2 separate regions of the Homo sapiens genome follow, and region 1 is linked to region 2. Evidence: promoter capture Hi-C in 16 types of primary human blood cells and fetal thymus (Javierre and others, 2016). All regions are on one chromosome and are shown on one strand. The core of a region is centred on a gene start or on the middle of the fragment in contact, and the rest is flanking DNA. Distances in the headings are between cores, read along the strand shown.

Region 1 (3,652 bases), core at 953-3,452, 150 kb before region 2:
TGCCTCAACAAGTCTACTACAGTTGAAATATTTGAAATCCCTGGGAAAGACAAGGCATAAGAAATTGAAATTACCAGGAAAGTAGAGGGTCCTTTTAATTTTTTTTTCTTCCTAATTTTCCTTCAGGGTAAGAAGCAAGGTCTCAAATTTCAAAAGCCCACACTTCTATAGATTAAAAAAAATAGTGGTATTGCCACCCAAGGATTTTATAAGACAAATGAAAGCTTTCATGTTCTTGTACACATGTGTGTGCTGAACATTTATAGAATATCTCAGTTGGTGAGACAGAACAATGTCTTTCTCAATTTACAGGAAGAAATGTGAAACTGAAAGTGACAACAGTTTGCAACTTTCCACTTCCCACCAAGATCTATGTAATAATATTCTACTTTTAGAAACCCCAAAGTGTACATATGTTTGAGGAATGCAGGGATATGCCAAAAAACACAACATGCCCTGGAATTAGACATTAGAATTAGGTTATGTTCTAATGTTACATCTCCTTTTCTCAACTCAGTAAACTCCCAAGAATTGCAAAATAATTCTATCATAATACTTTTGGGTTTGTTTGTATGTAAATTGTATTCCATTTAAAATAACTTTTACTTTTTTGTTTCTAAAATAATGAAGAATTATTGTAGATGTGTTAGAAAGATTAAAGAAACAAAAATAAGAAAATAGGAATCACACTCCCAGAGGTAATTAACATTTAACATCTTGAAGTACATCCTATCAGTCACCGTGTTATGTTTTGTTCTTTTAAACAAGAGAACCCCCTTTTATTACATAATTCTTCACAATGTTCTTCTGTAAGACAGAAAATGGCTATTTTATACCATTTTTAATATCTGTAGAGTAGAGCTGAGGGAGCAGAAAGATGGGGCATAGCATCTTTATGTATTTTCATGTGTATAAAGTCCAAGAAAATTTTTTAAAGCTAAAGGCTACTTAAAATTAAATATGGTTAAATGAATACTCTTTACTTTGTGTTCAAGCCTTCTTTCTAATAATCTTAAAATAACAATGTAAGGATAAATTGACAAACAGAATGAGAAGAGATAACAAAGTGTGAGAAACTGGAAAGCAATTGGACAAGTATTAACAGATTTAGCAAAACAGAGAAAAACAAAACCAAAGCTACCAGTAGGAGACAGCGTAGAAGCAAGCTGGCAAGCTGACTTAGCCCTTGGAATTCCAAAATCTAAAAATGATATTGTTGGTAGGGTTGAGCAATGAAGGATTTACCAAAAATATGTCTTATAAGCAGCAAGATAAGATCCAGTGCTGTGCTGGTAACCAGCTCCCTACTCCACCCCACCCCCAATAAAAAGCCCTGTTCGCCAGTTTTCATGACGTAAATATTCCCATCATGGCCAATTTCAAGCTATCAATATAATGTTACTCAACACAGAACTGGGAAGACATGAACACATGTCTTCCAGAGAGCTGGCTCAAGCCAGCTCCATCACACCTCTTATTTGACCCTATTAAGCAGTAGAGGAATTATCCTTTTTTTTCTGCAACCAAAGAATGGCTGCTTATTCTCTGAAGAAATGTCAGAGACACAGGACTCAGAGACATGAGGTTTAATTAAGAAGAAGTTACAGCATGAAAAGGGTGACTATATGGAAATGTATTTATGGTGCAGCCTCTTTCTTTTCCTGCTTTCCAGAACTGTCTACTGGCTGCAGATAAGAGAATCTCTTTATGGGGGAACTGAAAACAGAAGAAAAATCAAGGGATAATGGCATTTGAGGGTTCCTCAATGACCGCCCAGCCACATCACACCGGAGTGGAGCCCCAACCTGAGAGGCTCTTACCCAGAGCTTCCAGTCGGCATTTCAGTGGATCACTTTTAAAAATAAATGGTGATGGGGTGATGGAAATGCTACCCCCAAAATATGACATCTTGGAATACTGAGTATTTTAAGTTGAAGGAAATTGAGAAAATTGCAGAAGCAGAAAGGTCTTTGTGATCTTCTCTTTCTCTGATTTCTCCTACCTTTCTCTCCTGAGGTCATAAAAAGAATTCTCTGGCTTACTTCCCCTCAAAGCATGTGGTGTGACCTGATATGACCCTCATTCCAGAGGGATTCTTCCTTATACCTGGAGGCAAAGAACAATCTGAACAAACAGGCCTTGCTAAGTTCCCCCTAGTTTATATCCATTAGATCATACCCTTTTGTCCTCCAATCACACTTTTGCACAGATCCATAACAATATTTAGTTTTCCCTGGGTCTTTAGATCATTTATGAAGGCTCTTGTGCCATATAAAATGTTGATGAAATTAATTTGTTATGTTTTTCTCTTGTTAATCTGTCTCGTTAGAGGAATGTCAGTCTTGAATCTTGTGATGGGTAAGAAAAGGAGAATCCTTTTTCTCCTTTAAAATGGAAAGTTATATTGGTGCTGGTATTACAATTATTGAGATAGGATCTCACTGTCACCAAGGCTATAGTGCAGTGGTGTGATCTCAACTCACTGTAGCCTCTGCTTCCTGGGCTCAAGTGATCCTCCCACCTTCGCCTCCCAAGTAGCTGGGAGAACCATAAAAGAACAACATAAAATTAGCCACCATGCCCAGCTAATTTTTATATTTTTTGTAGATATGGGGTTTCACCATGTTGCCCATGTGGGTCCAGAACTCCTGGGTTCAAGTGATCCTCCCACCTTGGCCTCCCAAAGTGCCAGGATTAAAGGTATGAGCCACTATGCCTTTACTGGTAATATTAGTCTTGTTATTCTGACACTACTATGTATAATGTGGGATGAGCATACATGTAATTTTGAGACATTCTATCATCCCCTGCGTCCTTAAGACCAGAAAAAGGAGGGTAAATGTAACATAGAAAGACTTCAACCCTCACATTTATAGTCAATTGATTTTTGTCAAAGATGTCAATGACTTGTCATCTTTGAGGAAAGGCAAATGTCAAGACAACTGGATTTTTATACACTGAAAATATAAACTTTAATTCAGACCTCACACCATCTATAAAAATTAACTCAAAAATGGATTATAGACTTAAATATTGGAGCTAAAGCTATTAAACAATTAGAAAAAAAAATAGAAGGTAATCCTCATGACCTTGGATTAAGCAAATATTTCTCAGATATGACACCAAAAGCAAAATGTGTTAAATGAAAAAATGATAAATTGGGTATCTTTGATAAATTTTATCAAAATTAAAATCTTTTTACCTTCAAAATATATCGTTTAATAATGAAAAGGCAAGACACTGACTGGGATAAAATATTTGCAACATATATAACTAAGAAAAGACTAGTACTCATGGTAAAAAAAAAAAAAAAGACTTTTTATAACTCAGTAAGAAGCCAAACAATCCAGTTTTTTAAAAAAGGACAAAAGATTTGAATAGACATAAAGAAAAATGCAAACGTGATCGAGAAGTTCATGAAAAGATGTTCAACATGAGTAATCATCAGGAAAAATCAAACTAAAATCACAATGAAATACTACTTCACAGAGACTAGAAAAGCTATAATCAAAAAGAATGACAATACCAAATATTGGTCAGGATTTGCTAATGGGAGAACACCTTGAAATTTTGGAAATCAATATGGCTACTTCTTAAAAACGTAAACAGAAACTTACCACACAACGTAGCAATTCCATCCTAGGCATTTACT
Region 2 (4,082 bases), core at 1,210-3,709:
CCTCCCAAAGTGCTGGAAGTACAGGTGTGAGCCACTGCACCCGGCCTGATATTTCTTTATACTAACAATAGCTTTACACCACAGAGCAAAGAAAAGGAAAACAAAAACCAAAAAACAACAAAAAAGCAAACCCACAGTGAGTAATGCACGTAGATGAAGGCCCAGTGTGGGCATTGTGGGGAACTTGTCGTTGGCAAATCCAGCCTGCATGCATGCCATTTGATTACCTTTGGGGGGCACGCTTGCATGGGGGAATTTAGGCATGCCCTGAAAAGATATATAGCAGCAGAAAAGGGCTGGGAGGGGCTTTTTTCCCTTGGGGATGCTAGTAAACTGCATAGTGTGTCTGCATTTTGATGGTGACCCATCACATGTGACCAGGTGTGGAATTTTGCACTTGAGGTATTACTTGTCGGAACTCAAAAAGTTTTGGATTTTGGAGCATTTCAGGTTTTGGATTTTTGGATTAGGGATGCTCAATGCTCAATCTGTAGTAAGGTTTTATCTTAATCAAAAAACAGATCATTATTTTGTTAGGGAATAATAATTCTTCAGATAAATTCAAGAGAAATGTGATCCATTTCACCCACCTTAACACAGAGGCACCAGTGTGCCTGCTAAGGTTATTTATAGATCCGAAGTCACTTAATGGTGCAGATAATCTCCCACTTTTTCTTCCCATCATAGTGTCTGGGCTTATGTTGTTCAACACCAACAGGGTAGCCACTGGGCATTTAAATTCAAATGTAAATTAATTAAAATGAAATGAAAAATTTAATTCTTATTGCACACTATCTACATTCCACACACTATGTAGCCACAGTTGGCCACCATATTAGACAGCAAAGAACTAGAACAGCTATACAATCACAGAATGTATTATTAGACAGCACTGGACATGGTTGGGTTGGTCAAATGAACTGCTATTCAAATTTAATACAACACTGATAAATGATAAATGGAGACCATTTATTTACTTCCCATTGAGAAAGCTCTAGCCAGATAAACAGATTCCTGCAAATTGGTCCCTAAGATAAATTTTGTAGGGGCCAGAGGCAGTAGTGTCCTTAGACCCAAGCAAGAAAAACCGTGTTCTAGGCCCTCCATTTTAGAGGACACCAACCTGACTCTTCTTATGGGGTGAAAAATCTCCAGGCCAGCACCCAAAGCCTGGGTACCCACTATGTCCCCAAGACCCAGGACCCTGGAATTCCCTGACTGGTATTACCAAAGCCACTTCTTGGCCCTGAGCTAGCTTCTTCTGAGAACTGTCCTCCCAATGAAGGACCCAACAACTGGTATAGGCACACCTGAGATCCAGACGCAGACAGAGGGTGGCTGTTAGAAAGTGTGAACAGAACTTGGTTTTGTGGGCTGCGGTGTTCACACACAGGTACAAAAAATCCCCTCTTGTCCTTGAAGATAGCTGGGCACAGGAAGCAAAGACGGTGAAGGTGTACAGGCCAAAGGTTTGGATCTGACTCTTTCCCACCTGCCATGTTTCAGGGAGAAACTCCAAGGTGTCTGAGAATCCTGCTTACAAACCTTCCAGGTTGTTATGAAGGTAATTTCTCAAGGCAGGAGCACAGAATATATTTTATTAGCATGATATAGTCCTTGTAAAATTTTAAACATAGGGTAGGTAAGCCCTGGGCTTGCAAATGTTAGGGCGAGGCTGGAAGTCAGAGTAATCAATTCTGTTGGGGTTTCTTGGAGGGTTTGCTCATTATTGCTCGAACTGGTGAACATCTCAAGTATCTTTGCCTGTCGAATTTCTTTCAAAAGGCTGCCTTTCTAGTGAGGTCCAGATGCATCCTTTAGAGACCATCGCTGTTGTTGCTGAAGGCCAGAAACAGCTTCAGATTGTTCACTGTATTGAAGAGGAACCTGTTTACTGGCTCCAGTGTATTTGGGACAAATAAGACTACCATAATGAGGTGAGAAGGCGATTCCTTCCGAAACACTTGGTTTTGGGTACTTTTCCCATAGGGTTGGTCAGGGAAATTCCCTACTCTCGTCCCTACTCCATCCTCCGGGCCAGGCTCCTTGGGCCACATGGGCAGTCTCCAGGAGCGCACAAGACTGCTTTGTCCTGTGCCCGCGGTGCGAGCGCGGTGGCGGCGAAGGGAAACGAGCAGGAGAGTGGCCACCGCGGGTGGAGTTTGGACTCGAACTTTCCTCCGTTCGGACTCGAACTTTCCTCCGTTCTCTCTACGAGTTACTGCCTTCCCGCGGGCTCCCCACAACTCCTGCCCGGAGGCCGAGGCCCGGGCGCGCACCGGGTCGGAGTCGGGCTCGGCAGGTCCCGGGAGCGCGCGCCTCCTCCCCGAGGTCCCGGGCAGCTGCAGACACGGGGAGAGCAGGAGAGCCGGGAAAGAGGAGGGGAAGGGGCGGGGGCGGCCGCCGGCGGCGGGCGGGGAGGAGCCGCCGCGCGCGGGTCCTGGCCAGGGGAGGAGGCAGTGGCGGCGGCGGCGGCGGCAGAGGAGGAGGAGGAGGCGGTGCTCGCGCCGGGCGGTAGAGCGGCGCTGGGACCCATGCGGCCGTGACCCCCGGCTCCCTAGAGGCCCAGCGCAGCCGCAGCGGACAAAGGAGCATGTCCGCGCCGGGGAAGGCCCGTCCTCCGGCCGCCATAAGGCTCCGGTCGCCGCTGGGCCCGCGCCGCGCTCCTGCCCGCCCGGGCTCCGGGGCGGCCCGCTAGGCCAGTGCGCCGCCGCTCGCCCCGCAGGCCCCGGCCCGCAGCATGGAGCCACCCGGACGCCGGCGGGGCCGCGCGCAGCCGCCGCTGTTGCTGCCGCTCTCGCTGTTAGCGCTGCTCGCGCTGCTGGGAGGCGGCGGCGGCGGCGGCGCCGCGGCGCTGCCCGCCGGCTGCAAGCACGATGGGCGGCCCCGAGGGGCTGGCAGGGCGGCGGGCGCCGCCGAGGGCAAGGTGGTGTGCAGCAGCCTGGAACTCGCGCAGGTCCTGCCCCCAGATACTCTGCCCAACCGCACGGTCACCCTGTGAGTATCTCCCGCGACGCTGGGTCCTCTCCCGCTCGGCTCTTTCTTATCTCTCCGCTCAACTTTGGAGCAGGGTCCAGCCGGCACCCACGCGCCTTTGTGTGGAGCTGTAGGCAGGGGGCGGTGCTAGGAAAGACCTCGTGTGCTTGGCATGGGTGCAGTTCAGGGAAAGGCAAGGGAATCTGCGTCCGAGCTGCCTCCCAGCTCCACTAGTTTGCAAAGTAAAGTTTTCGGGTTCTCAGGCGCTCCCCGCGCTGTCCCCGGCGCAGCGCTTTTGGGCTGCGCGGTGCCACGTGAGGATGCAAGTAAACACGCAGTCAACAGAGTTAAAGCTCATTCATCCTGGGCTTGGGTTTCCAGAAAACACAATGCTTGATTGCAAGCGCCAGTCCTTCTGCTTCTTTGCAAATTAAGTTACACTTACGTGGTAGAGTTTGCAAAACACAAGGACTGTGTGCGAGCCCAAACCCCAAGACGCTTCCTTTGCCTTTTGCTATCTTAGTTTTATTACAGTTAAAGAGCACCTTTTAAGATAGAGTTGTTATTAAGGGCTGGAAACATTTCAGATCAATCTGTTTATGTACCTTGCAGTCCCGTTTTCGTGTCTGTGAGGGCTTATATTTAAAAGCCAGGAACATTGGAACTGAAAACCGTGGGTTTATTGAGCCTTCCAACTCGAGGGATTTTTGATTTTCGGATTGAGTTTCCACCTGGAAGGAAAAATTTTGGTAACTCACTTGTGCTGGGATTCACGGTTCAGTTTTGCAAACGTAGTTTTGCCAATTCTAGCTGAACAGTTGGCCCCAGTGACTGTCGAGTTTGTTTTCAGAAGGATGAATTGGTTTGGAAAGTTTTGAGTCTAAGTGTTTCTCATGGGTATTTTGTTCAACTGAAATGTGAGTCCCTTGGCTCGGGGTTCCTCTATGTTGTTTTGGTTGGTTTCCTAAAAAAAGAATCAAGGCAGCCACTATACAAACATGAATGCAAGGACCGCAGCATGATCTATGAAAACACTTAAAGTATGGTTTTAAATGTAACCCAAATTCAGCAGGAGTATACACAGGTAGGCCAGGTATACATTTCAT

Evidence for each region. Contacts are between HindIII fragments. The CHiCAGO score rates a contact against its expected background, and 5 or more counts as called.
Region 1: a fragment that was not itself captured here is called in contact with the fragment with the promoter of ADGRA3 in region 2 in 1 of 17 cell types (fetal thymus); the score reaches 5.3 in fetal thymus.

Annotation. Positions count from the first base shown.
Region 1 is chr4:22,665,229-22,668,880 of GRCh38, reverse strand. No RefSeq gene overlaps it. Among named protein-coding and RNA genes, the nearest start is that of ADGRA3, 150 kb to the right of the region's middle. The HindIII fragment of the contact is 3,952 bases long and covers 227-3,652 here.
Region 2 is chr4:22,514,443-22,518,524 of GRCh38, reverse strand. It overlaps ADGRA3 (adhesion G protein-coupled receptor A3), which reads left to right and starts at 2,459. Exons shown (of 19, transcript NM_145290.4): 1 at 2,459-2,997. The coding sequence starts at 2,741. It overlaps MIR12115 (microRNA 12115), which reads right to left and starts at 3,213; the gene lies at 3,140-3,213. The HindIII fragment of the contact is 8,309 bases long and covers 1-4,082 here.